Linked DNA regions of Homo sapiens: regions 2, 3 and 4 are each linked to region 1. The links are contacts of gene promoters, found by promoter capture Hi-C in blood cells and fetal thymus (Javierre and others, 2016). All regions are on one chromosome and are shown on one strand. Each heading gives the region's core, a stretch centred on a gene start or on the middle of the fragment in contact. The rest is flanking DNA. Distances are from core to core; before and after follow the strand shown.

Region 1 (3,058 bases), core at 55-2,554:
CTGCAGGTCCCAGGCCTCCCGATGTCTCCCCCTCCGCCCTGAGCATTTCCAGACCTTGGAGAGCCTGACTTGGGAAGGGGAAACTGGAATCAATCGGTTGACCGACCCCCTTTTCCCAACCGCCGCCTCCCCACCAATCACTCCATGTCCGGAAGGGGGCTGGGGGCTCCCGACTATAGGAGACTCTGGGAGTCCTATGAGGCCTTTGAGACAGGGGCGCGAGCGAGGCTGGAAGGAAAGGCTGGGCAGAGAGCGGAGGGGCTCGCGCGCATCTCTCCCGGCGCGGCAGAAGGTTGGCACTGCTGCCCCCCTGCGGGTCCCAGAGCCGCTGGGCGCCCGCGGCCGCGCAGTCGGATTGTATTTCTGCGGGGCTCGCTCCCGGGCCTGGCTCGGGGCCGCCGCCGCCGCCGCCGCCCCTCCCGGCGCGCAGGCTGCTCTCCAGTCGCGGCCACGGGGTAGCGCTCGGCCCCCCTCTCCGCGTCTCCGCCTCCGCCGCGCTCGTCCCCGGCTCACGCTGCCCCCGCAGCTCCGGCTCGGCGCAGGCAGGAGCGGCTCTCTGGACGCCGAGCCCGGGAAGCGGAGGGCGGCGGGCTCGGCGAGCGGCAGCGGCGGCCGAGGCGCTGGGGCGGCCGTTGCTCCTCCGGCCCGGGAGGTCGGCGATCGCCGGGCGTCCGAAGGGGCGCCGCGTCCCCGGAGCCGGGGCTGCCCGCCGGGCTCTCCGTGCGTCTTCCCGAGAGCTCCGGCCGGGGCGCGGCGGAGGGCAGAGCCGCCGGTCTCCATCCTCGGGCCGGCAGGAGGCTCTGCGCCCGGGCGCCGGCGACAGCCCGCGTCGCGAAGCCCAGCACCCTCCCCCGCCGCCCCGCGGCTGGCGCGGACATGGGCGCTCAGGGCTGCGCGCCCGGCTCCGGGACCCGCAAAGTTTGCTAGCCGGCTGGGCGCGGAGCCGAGGGCGCGCCCGGCCCCAGCGCCCCCGGAGGAGACCCGGCGTCTCCCGATTCGGCGCGAGGGCGGTGGAGCCCAGAGGGGGTGGTTCGGCCCCGCCAGATGCTGCCTGCAAAGTTAGAGAGAAGAAAACTTCAGCTCCAGGGAGATTCGGACCGCTATGCTCACCGCGTCCCCCGAAACCGGCGCCCCTAAAAGAACCCCCGCACCCGCGTCTGCCACTGCGCTCGGCTCTGGCCGGGTCCCGGGGGCCCGGCGCCTGGAACGGCGGTGACTGCGTCGGCCGGGAGAACCCAACCAGGGGGCGGGGAGGGGGCGGGCAACGTGGCCACGGGAGGAAGTTTCCTGAAGTTGTCCATTTATTCCGGAGCTCGGCCGGCGACCCGGCCGGATCGCAGAGGCCGCCCTGTTTGGGAGAAGTCGGAGTTGGGGTGCTAAGGGAGAGAGGCGCCCTAGTCCGAGAGGGCGGCCTGGCCTCTTTCTCCCTGCTCGCCCCTCGCCTTCCGGGCGCGCTGCCGGGCTCGGACTAGTACAGAAGAGGAGGAAGGGTTGGGGTAGCCAAGCGCTGCCCCTCCCGGGCATATTACACCCCGGGGCACGGAGCCGCGTAGACTGACTGTTTCCTGGGACTAAGCCACGGGGTATCGGACCCCACCAGGATTATAAAACAGGGCGGAGGGAAGGGAGACCCCGAGGACCCCTCTCCAGGCTGGTCACCATGTGGGGGCTTTTGATCTGGACACTGCTAGCTCTGCATCAGATCCGCGCGGCCAGAGCCCAAGGTAAGGAGGGACCCCCACGTGGGGACAGGGAGGGGGCTGGGAGAGTGGGCGGGGGAGGGGCGGCGGGAGCTGGCCGGCCTCACGGTGACCTCCTGGACACCCGGCTTAGCCGTGGCAGAGCCCTCTCCAGGGAGTTTCAAGACACCCCATCTCCCAAGTTTTGGGGCTCTTTTGGGGGTGGGGCAGTCTCTCCGAGACTTGTGGCTTCCGAATGGGGGAAGGTGGGGACGACCTGGGGAGGCAGAGAAGAGCCCAAGGTGAAGTGGGAGGGGCGCTCCCCTCCCCCCGTCTGCTGTGGCTGCCCTGCGCCGGCTTGGGAGGGGAGCGACATTCCGTGCCGGGCTCCACGCTCGGCTACGCTGAGCTTCCCAGACCGAGCTCCTGGTTCCCTGCTCGGTGTCTGCGGGGAAGGGCAGGGCCCCTGCCGGGCAGGCGATGGCCTCCCCGGGGCGAGGGAGTGGGGTGGGCGAGCGCTGGATGCCGGGTTGCTCGCCCGGGGAGAGCAATTGCCCGGCTTGGCCACGTACGGGAGCCCGCCCCTGGCTGCTCGGCCAGCCGCTGGGGCTGGGGGTGCTTCGCTGCGCGGGCCTGGAGCCAAGGTCGCGGGTGCAGCCGCGGACCCACCGGGGGGTGGTGCACAGGGAGGGTCTGAGGCCTCCCCTCCTACCCATCCACCCACACCCAGCATCCCCGCCCCTGCCTCCAGCCTCCGCTGTTCGCTCGATAGTCTGTGCAGCCGCTCGCTGCTGTGACCTGTGGCTGCCGGGAGCAGCCTCGCGGTGGAGAAGGGCTGGTGGCTTTGGGTTTGGGAGTGCTACGAAGGATCCGAGGTGTGATCTGCGCTGCCCGCTTCCTGAGGGTGGATGCCCAGACGTCCCCCTGGTCCCCGGGCAGGTCCCCGAGGTGAAGGGCGGCTGCACCGGCGGTTCCTCGACTTTGGGGTTCGCCGATCCAGACAGTGGTGTCAGCGGTGTCCGAGCGGCGCCTGCTGGGGGCGGAGGGAGACGAAGCCTGGACCGAGCTCCAGGACTCGCAGGGCTAGGCCTTCACTCTCGCAGGCTCAGGAGGGGGCCAGACCCACCCTAGGGGTCCGGACTGTGGGGGCTGCAACCCACTCCCCACGCCGCCTCGTGCGCCAGGCAATCCAGAGAGCCAAGATCAAAGAGATGAAAATAATCAGCTCTCACTCACAGGGCTGAGGGGAGGATTTTACGAGGTAATTTACATAAAAGCACTTCGAAATTTTGTAACGAGCCCTATAAATGTAGGGTAATAAAAGTTATTATTTTTATGATCATCATAAAATCTTTGAACAAGCGAGGACCTCAGAGGTC
Region 2 (3,073 bases), core at 106-2,605, 350 kb before region 1:
TGCTGTTGCTCCCTAGACTCAGCTCCGCGGAAGGGGAAAAGGAAGGGTGAGCTGGTTTATTCTGGGGAAATCTCCCCATTCATTCTTAGGGTCCACTCAAGAAAGAAATTTTCTATACTCTCTGGTCCCCAGGGAGCTCTGCTTCACTTCCAGATGAGCAGCTGAGACCAAAGAAACACCAGGAAATGTACTTATTTCATTCCACCTTGAATTACTCCCCGGCACGTCTGGCTTATAAAATCCTTGGCTGCAGGGATAGTCTCTCAGTCACCCTTAGATCTCCCAAACACGCCAGGTGCGGTGGCTCATCCCAGCACTTTGGGAGGCTGAGGCGGGCGGATCACCTGAGGTCAGGAGTTTGAGACCAGCCTGGCCAACATGACGAAACCCCGTCTCTACTAAAAATATAAAAATTAGCCAGGCGTGGTGGCGCATACCTATAATCCCAGCTACTAGGGAGGCTGAGGCAGGAGAATCACTTGAACCCAGGAGGCAGAGGTTGTAGTGAGCTGAGATCGTGCCACTGTACTCCAGTCTGGGCTACAGAGCGAGACTCCATCTAAAAAAAGAAAAAAATCCTAAACAAATATTAAATACTTACTGTATGCCAGGCCTTATGCTAGCTGTGGGACACAGTGCTTTGTATATGGTAAGTGTTCACAGAATGCTTATTATGTAAATGAGTCTCTGCTGATTAAGTTCACATGAATGCCAGACTTTTTCTAGGAGCTTCCAGGAGATACTGGAGTCCTTGAAAAAAGAGGGAGGACACGGATATTCAGGGAATCTGTATTTCTCTCTTCACCTATTCCATCCTGCATCTCTGCTCTGAAAGGGATGTTCTCTCCATCGCTGGGTGGGGCCAGCAAGTTCATTCTCGGAGTTGCTGCTGCTTCCAAAGGCCATTTCTGAAAAGCCACAAAGGAGGTGAGGTTTCTCCTCCAGTCTCTTTCTCTTGATTTTTTAGCCTGTCCTGGAATCTCACTTTCACTGTAACCTCATTACCATTTTCAGTCCTCATGGACTCTTATTTTTTTTTATTTTTATTATTATTTTTTTTGAGATGGAGTCTCGCTCTGTCGCCCAGGCTGGAGTGCAGTGGCACAATCTCAGCTCACTGCAAGCTCCGCCTCCTGGGGTCATGCCATTCTCCTGCCTCAGCCTCCTGAGTAGCTGGGACTACAGGTGACTGCTGCTATGCCCAGCTAATTTGCTGTATTTTTAGTAGAGACGGGGTTTCACCGTGTTAGCCAGGATGGTCTCGATCTCCTGACCTCATGATACACCCACCTCGGCCTCCCAAAATTCTGGGATTACAGGCGTGAGCCACCGCACCCGGCCTATGGACTATTTTTAAGAGTCAAAAATCAAATGATCCCAAATAACAAAGACTTCAAGTATTACTAGGAGAGGATCCACCATTTCCCTTCATGCTCTGGCAATAGAGGAGGCATGGTGTGTCCAGAGAGAAGTCAGGCTTCCTTCCCCTCCAGCCTCTGAGAGCCTCCTTCCATGCTGGGTCTATTGGTAAAGTCTTCAGGCTGGCTGTCCCTCCTGAACCCTCTAGGTCATGCATGGACACTTGGTTGCTGAACATTTTGTCAAAACAGTACTCAGTGTCAGGGGAACCCAAAGGAAAGAAAAATGGCTGCCGGAGCCAGGTGACCCAGCTTGCAGCCGACGGTTTGCTCTCTGAAGCTCTTGGGCCCTCTTCCATCTTCCTCCCAGCATGATCCAGGTAGTGACATCACCTTGGCATCTGCCATCAGGAGTCCAAACCTGCCATCAGGAGTCCAAACCAGGGAAGGTCCAAGAGGTGAAGGCCAGAGGCTCATCTCTGTATTCCAACGTCCAGTCTGAGGTCACACTGCCACCTTGGACAATTGACAATGGGTGGCCGTGGTACTCCATGCAGAGAGGTGGGCTTCATACCTGTGGATCCACCAGGACAGCATCTCAGAACACCCTCAAGTCAACCCAACATCCATCCAAGAGATGGCCACAAATGCTAAGTGGCCATTTTGTAACTATGACTTGTCTCAAGAGTCTGGGGTGGTGGACAGAGCTCCAAAGAGAAAACACCTCCTTAACTTTCAAAGACGGTACCCTGCCACCTCTGTCCCCAGGATGTCTCTGTCTCCTCCTCTTTTCAGCTCACACAATTGTCAAAGTGCAGCTTGCTCCCCAGACACTGTCCTACTACTTTACAGGCAAACCCTGCCTTGCCGAACCTGAGAAGGGGGCAAAGTGTTTGCGGGTCCCAAGGTTACTCCCCAAAGGCTCTTAAGAACATTAAGAGAGTGTGTGAAATCATGAGCACGAAATTTTCACAGCTGCACCCACACCCTGTGTTCTCATCCCTCCCGGGTTCCATCCACTTATTTTTCTTGACCTCAGTGGGGTAGACTGAGTCACCCCATACTAGTCTTTGGGATTCATGACAATCTGCACCTGTGGATCTGGAAGGGTCTAAGTGCATGTTACAAGCAGGCAAGAAAGACCAAAGAAGAGAAGAGAATGCTGGGTCCCTCATTCTCAGCACTCCTGACACCTGGGGCCCACCCATTCTCTGTGGTGGGGGCAGGGGGCAACCTGTGAACGGTAGGATGCTGCATCCCAGAGCAGCATCCCTGGCCTGTACCCACCAGATGCCAGTAGCATCCACCCCCCAGTTGTGACAACCAAAAATGTCTCCAGACATTGCCAAATGTCGTCTGGGGGACAATGTCACCCCTGGTTGAGAACTGATGAAAAGAAGAACAAAAATGCTTAGAGGGCTTCATTTATTTAGAATTCATGACTGTGCCACGGAAGCTTCCTGCTGGCCCCCAGCCCTTGACCTTGGGCTGTTCCTTTTACATCGGTCTCTTAGCCCTGCTCACCTATACCCTACACACACAAACACACGCGCACACACACACACACACACACCCCTCCCCAGGCAGGCTTCATGTCCCCATTTCACCAAACTCCCAAAGGAAAGCTCTCTTGGCATAAGCTCTGGAAAGTGCGGTGGGGAATGCTGATGAAGGAATCAACAGGGTGGAGGGTGAAAGGGCCTGTCGTGGAGGGG
Region 3 (3,192 bases), core at 62-2,561, 280 kb before region 1:
GATCACAGATCACCATAACAGATATAATGATGAAAAGGTTTGAAATATTGTGAAAATTATCAGAATATAACAACAAGACACAAAGTGGGCACATGCTGTTGGAAAAATGATGCTGATAGACTCGCTTGACACGGGGTTGCCAGAAACCTTTAATTTTTTTTTTTAAATGCAATATTTGTGAAGCACACTAAAATTAGGTGTGCCTGGGTATTATTTAGCTCTGCCTGAGTTTTGAACTTTATATAATGGAGTCATACTGTATATTTTCTTCTGTGCCTTGCTTCTTTTGCTCAAGAATATATTTGTTGGATTCATCTATTTTTAATGTGAGTGTTTGTGGTTCATTCATTCTCACTTCTAAATAATACTCCAGTGTATGAATATGCTGCAATTTATTTGCCCAGCCTACTGCTGGTGGAAATTTGGGGTTTGAGCTATTATGAATATTGCTGTGAATATGGATTTATGAAACTCAAGGTTTGCTACTCCAAGTGTAGCCCTCAGAACAGTGGCAGATTTTCAGGGTCCTATCCCAGATCTACTGAATTAGAATTTGCATATTAGCAAAATTGTATGCATGCTAGAGTTTGATAAGCACTGCTCTATGTACCTAGGTTTACACTGAGAAGTAGAGTTGTTGATCCTAAGGTAACCATGCATTAAATCTTACAATGAACAGGCAAACTGTTTTCCAAAATGGTTATGCCCATTCCCACTCTACCCTAGTGAAGGACCAGAGTTTCTGTTGGCCCACATTTCATCATCTCTTGGTATTGACAAACTTTTACATTTTACCAACCTGGTAAGTATGAGATGGTATCTCTGTAGGATTTTGCTTTTCATTTTCCTTATTACAGACATGTCCCAAAGGATACCACTGTGATCTAAGCAGGCCACGCTTGGAGTAGCAGCCGGGAGCCACAGCTTTTCATATGGTGAAGGGCCATTTTGCTTTCTTTTCTAGCAAATGCCTATTTATGTTTTTGCTCATTTTTCTGTTGGGTTTATTTCTAATGGGTTCATGAATTTTTTTTTTTTTTTTTTTTTTTTGAGACAGGGTCTCACTATGTCATCTAGGCTGGAGTACAGTGACGTGATCACTGCTCACTGCAGCCTTGACATCCTGGGGCCAAGCAATCCTCCCTCCTCAGCCTCCTGAGTAGCTGGGACTACAGGCATGTGCCACAAAGCCCGGCTAATTTTTTTATTTTTTGTAAAACAGGGTCTCACTATGTTTCCCAGACTGGTCTCGAACTACTGGGCTCAAGCAATCCTCCCACCTTAGCCTCCTGAAGTGCTGGGATTACAGGTATGAGCCACTCCACCCAGCCCATAAAAGATTTTTTGTTCATGACTTTTACATATTTGTTCATGTGGCAGAAACCACACAATGTGCTTAGCCCACCATTTCCTTGTCCTGGACATAAAGAAGAGCAAATCTGCCAGCCTCCTTTGCAGTTAGATTGGGACCATGTGACTGAGTTCCTACTAAGGGAATGATAATTGGATTAGTTTGCCAGGGCTTCCCTAACAAAATACCACAGACAGAATAGCTTAAACAATAGGTGTTAATTTTCTCACAGTTCTGGAAGCTGGAAGTCCAGGATCAGAGGGTCAGCAGATTTGGTTTCTTCTGAGGCTCCTCTCCTTGGCTGTCAGATGACCGACCTCTTGCTGTGTCTTCATATGGTCTTTCCTCTATGCATGAACAGCTGTGTCCTAATCTCTTCTTATAAGGACACCCGCCATATCGGATTAGCACCCACCCCTATGAACTTATTTTAATTACCACTTCTTTATGTCCAGGAAAAGGAAGTGGTGGGCTAAGCACATTGTGCGGTTTCTGCCACATGAACAGAGATGTAAAAGTCACAAATAAAAAATATTTTATGGGCTGGGTGGGGTGGCTCGTGCTTGTAATCCCAGCACTTCAGGAGGCTGAGGTGGGAGGACTGCTTGAGCCCAGTAGTTTGACACCAGTCTGGGAAACATAGTGAGACCCTGTTAAAAGTGGTAATTAAATAATTTAAAACATCATGAGACCCTATCTCCAAATTCAGTCACATTCTGAGGTACTCGGGGTTAGGACTTCAATAATTGAATTTTGGAGGACACAAGTCAATCCTCAACAATGGTGTAGTCACTTCTCTGCATGGACCTTAAAATCATCCCACGATTTTCCAGCCTGCACTTCCCCTTTTGTGGAAACTTTGGAAGCCGCATGTTCTAGGCGGTATAGCCATAAAAGAGAAGCAGCCTGGGTTCCTGTGTTACTGCCTGGAGCGGAGCTGCCTGTCCTGCAACAGGCTGTGACATGGAAGAGAACCAGACCTCCATAGTGCAAGACCACTGACATTTTGAAATTTGTTACTGCAAAATGATCAATTCTATCCTTACTAAGCAGTTTTTGCATGAGATTAGACTGATTTTTCTTGCCCATATCATCCTTGTCAAGTTTTGGAATTAAGATTTTGCTAATCTTTTAAACTGATGGGGGCAGGTTTCTTCTTTTTCTATGACCTGGAAAAGTAGTTCCTAAAACATTTTGTAGAAATTGCTGATAAATCATTTGGACCTAGTTTTTTTTTTTTTCTGGAAGATTTTTATCTAATAATTCAATTTCTTTAAAGGTCATTAGACTCTCCAGGTTTTCTACTGCTTCTTTGATAAATTGTATTTTTCTAGAATTTATCCACTTTTATCTAAGTTTTAAAATTTATCATAAAGTTTTTCTTAACCTCGTCTCATCTGTTTAATAATTGCAGCTTTTGCAGTAATAAGCCCTTTTTAATTCTTAATATTGTTCCTAATATTGTTTATTTTTTCATTCTTTCTCTCTCCACTCCCCATCCTGTTTATTTTCTTCTGAGTAATCTTGCTAGCTAAGGAATGGTCATTTTAAAAGCTTTTTTTTTTTTTTTCCAAAGAACCAATTTTTGGTTTTGACATTTCTTTTTATTGAACTTTATTTTTGCCTTTAGTTTTGTTCTTAGCTTGAATATTTTCTTCTTTCTGTTTTTATTGGGTTTATTCTGCTATTCTTTTGACTTTTTAAATGGAATGCTCAAGTCACTAATTTTGAGCCTTTAGTTCTAATATAAGCAGCTAAAGTTATATATTTTCCTCTAAATACTGCTTTAGCTGCACCCCCAAAATTTTTATATGAAATAATTTTATAATTCAGTTATTCAT
Region 4 (2,901 bases), core at 126-2,625, 320 kb before region 1:
ACAACTGTATTGGCTTGAGGTATCAGAGGACAGCATTCCGGACAGGAAGAAAGAAAGTTGGCCGGGTGCAGTAGCTTACTCCTGTAATCCCAGCACTTTAGGAGGCCAAGGTGGATGGATCACCTGAGGTCAGGAGTTCAAGACCAGCCTGGCCAACATGGTGAAACCCCATCACTACTAAAAATACAAAAATTAGCCAGGCATGGTGGTGGGCGCCTGTAATCCCAGCTACTTGGGAGGCTGAGGCACAGAATCGCTTGAACCCAGGAGGCGCAGAAGGTTGCAGTGAGCTGAGATCATGCCACTGCACTCCAGCCTGGGTGACAGAGCAAGACTCTGTGTCAAAAAAAAAAAAAAAAAAAGTTAAGAAGGAAATACTTGAAGGAAGTGTGCCTCAAAGGAGGAGAGCCCAAAATACATATGAGATTCACCCAAATTCTTGGCACATCTAAGATATGTATATTGAGAAGAGACTTGACAATTTTTTGGGTGGATTTGATAATGATATTGGTCTAATAATAATGATAAGGATCAGGAAAAAAAAAAGCAACTGGAAGTGGAAGAAACTGGTGGAGATTTTAGTTGCTACTGGTCAAGGGGGAGATGATTTTTGGAGATTGAGATACTCAATTGGCTTGCATGACTGAATAAATTGACAGAAAAACAAAACAGACTTCAGAGTCTTTACAGTGTATTTAAAAAAAATGTTTAGTATCCAATCAGAAATCACTAGACACATAAATAGGAAAATGTTGCCTCTACCAAAAAAAAAAAATCCCATCAGTAGAAATCAACCCCAGGATGATCCAAATGTTGCAATTAGTAGATAAGGAATTGAAAACAGCTATTATAAATATGCTCAAAGACTTAAAATATATACATATGGAAAATACATACAAAATGAGAAATCACAGTAAAGAAATAGAAATTATCATAGAGAGCCAAATGGAAATTCTAGAGTAATGCTGTTCAAAGAACTTTTGCAGCAATGGAACTGTTCTATATCAGCACTGTCTAACACAATAGTCACTAGCCTCATGTGGCTCTTGAGCACCTGAAATGTAGCTGCTGTGAATGAACCAAAAATTAATTAGAATTTTAAAAGGCACACAGTGATTACATTATTGGGCAGTACAGTTTTACACTTAAAATGTATATAACTGAAATAAAAGAATCCCTTGAATCATTCAGTAGTAGATTGGAAATGGAAGAAGAAAGAGTCAGTGACCTTGAAGGTAGGTCAATAGAAAGTATCCAGTGGAAAAATACAGAGAAAGAAAGTAATAGAAATGCACAGAACCTCATAAATATGTGGAAAATATCAAGCTAAAATATGTGTAATTGGAGTACTAGAAGGAGAGGGGACAGAAAATCAGGCAGAAAAATATTTGTAGAAATAATGACTGAAAATCCCCAAAATCTAGTGATGAATTTATAGATCCAAAAAGCTCAATGAATCCCAAGTAGAATAAATACAAAGTGGACCACATCTAGGCCCGTCATAATCAAATAGCTAAAATCTGAAGACAAAGGAACAACTCTTGAAAACAGAGAAAAACACCACCACATTCAATTACAAGATACTAATGGTGCCTGACATCTCATCAGAGACAAAGGAGGTTGAAGATAGGGGAACAATAACTTTAAAGTGCTGAAAGGAAAAGAAAAGAACCTACTACCCAGAATTCTACACCCAGCTAAATTGTCTCTCAAAAAATAAAAACAAAATAATCTGCTCAGGCTACCATAACAAAATACTGCAGACTGGGCAACTTAACCAACAGAAATTTATTTTCTAACAGTTCTGGAGGGTGGAAGTCTGAGGTCAGGGTGCCAGCATGGTGGGGTTCTGGTGAGGGCTTTCCTCCTGGCTTTCAGGTGGTCATCTTCTCATTGTGTTCTCACATGGCCTTGTCTAGGTTTGTGCTCATGGAGAGAGAGAATGAACTCTCTTCCTCTTCTTTTAAGCCACCAATCCTATCAGATTAGGACCCTACTCTTATGACCTCATTTAACCTTAATTACCTCCTATATCTCAGCCCTATCTCAAAATACAATCACATTGAGAGTTAAGGTTTCAACATGAGAAGTTTTAGGGAACACAGTTCAGTCCATAGCAGAAATACATTTTTTTTTTTTTTTTTTTTTTTAGTTGGAGTCTCACTCTGTTGCTCAGGCTGAAGTGCAGCGGCATAATCTCAGCTCACTGGAATCTCTGCCTCCCAGGATCAAGTGATCCTCCCACCTCAGCCTCCCAAGTAGCTGAGACTACAGGTGTGCATCACCATGGCTGGCTAACTTTTGTATTTTTAGTAGAGACGGGGTTTCATCATGTTGGCCAGGCTGGTCTCAAACTCCTGACCTCAGCTGATCTGCCTGCCTCAGCCTCCCAAAGTGCTGGGATTACAGGCATGAGCCACTGCTCCTAGCCTCATAGCAGAAATAAATTTATCAAAAGGTCTGCAAGGTCTGTATACATAAAACTACAAAATACTATTGAGACAAATGACAGGTTCTGTAATAATTTCCATAATGTATTTTTGTATTTCTATAATAATTATCTCTGTAATAAATGGAGAGACATACCATGTTCAAGAATTAGATGACTCAATATTGTTAAGATGTAAATTCTCCCCAATTATATTTCAATTCAATCCCAATCAAAACTCCTCCAGACTTTTATAAAATAGAAATTGATAATATGCTTTTAAAATTCATAAGGAAAAACAGAAGACCTAGAATAACCAACCAGTCTTGAAAAAGAAGATCAATGCTAGGAAACTTATACTTTCTAAACTTAAGACTCACTGTAAAGTAATTAAAACAGTATAATAGTAGACAAACTGGTCAATAAAAAAGAATAGGCCAGAAAGAGATTTACATGATCAATTGATTTTTGAC

What was found. Contacts are between HindIII fragments. The CHiCAGO score rates a contact against its expected background, and 5 or more counts as called.
Region 2: a contact is called between a fragment that was not itself captured here and the fragment with the promoter of SDK2 in region 1, in 6 of 17 cell types (naive CD4 T cells, monocytes, naive CD8 T cells and 3 more). The highest score is 7.6, in naive CD4 T cells.
Region 3: a fragment that was not itself captured here is called in contact with the fragment with the promoter of SDK2 in region 1 in 1 of 17 cell types (fetal thymus); the score reaches 5.1 in fetal thymus.
Region 4: a contact is called between a fragment that was not itself captured here and the fragment with the promoter of SDK2 in region 1, in 6 of 17 cell types (M2 macrophages, M1 macrophages, naive CD4 T cells and 3 more). The highest score is 7.0, in M2 macrophages.

What each region holds. Positions count from the first base shown.
Region 1 is chr17:73,642,691-73,645,748 of GRCh38, reverse strand. It overlaps SDK2 (sidekick cell adhesion molecule 2), which reads left to right and starts at 1,304. Exons shown (of 45, transcript NM_001144952.2): 1 at 1,304-1,724. The coding sequence starts at 1,661. It overlaps LOC124904054 (a long non-coding RNA gene), which reads right to left and starts at 275. Exons shown (of 2, transcript XR_007065893.1): 1 at 55-275. The HindIII fragment of the contact is 5,171 bases long and covers 1-3,058 here.
Region 2 is chr17:73,992,751-73,995,823 of GRCh38, reverse strand. No RefSeq gene overlaps it. Among named protein-coding and RNA genes, the nearest start is that of LINC02074, 120 kb to the left of the region's middle. The HindIII fragment of the contact is 2,923 bases long and covers 1-2,816 here.
Region 3 is chr17:73,923,310-73,926,501 of GRCh38, reverse strand. The region is part of intron 2 of LOC107985081 (a long non-coding RNA gene); the gene reads right to left. LOC105371888 (a long non-coding RNA gene) reads left to right here. Exons shown (of 6, transcript XR_934962.2): 6 at 1-946. Among named protein-coding and RNA genes, the nearest start is that of LINC00469, 96 kb to the right of the region's middle. The HindIII fragment of the contact is 3,192 bases long and covers 1-2,907 here.
Region 4 is chr17:73,963,122-73,966,022 of GRCh38, reverse strand. No RefSeq gene overlaps it. Among named protein-coding and RNA genes, the nearest start is that of LINC00469, 140 kb to the right of the region's middle. The HindIII fragment of the contact is 3,404 bases long and covers 1-2,901 here.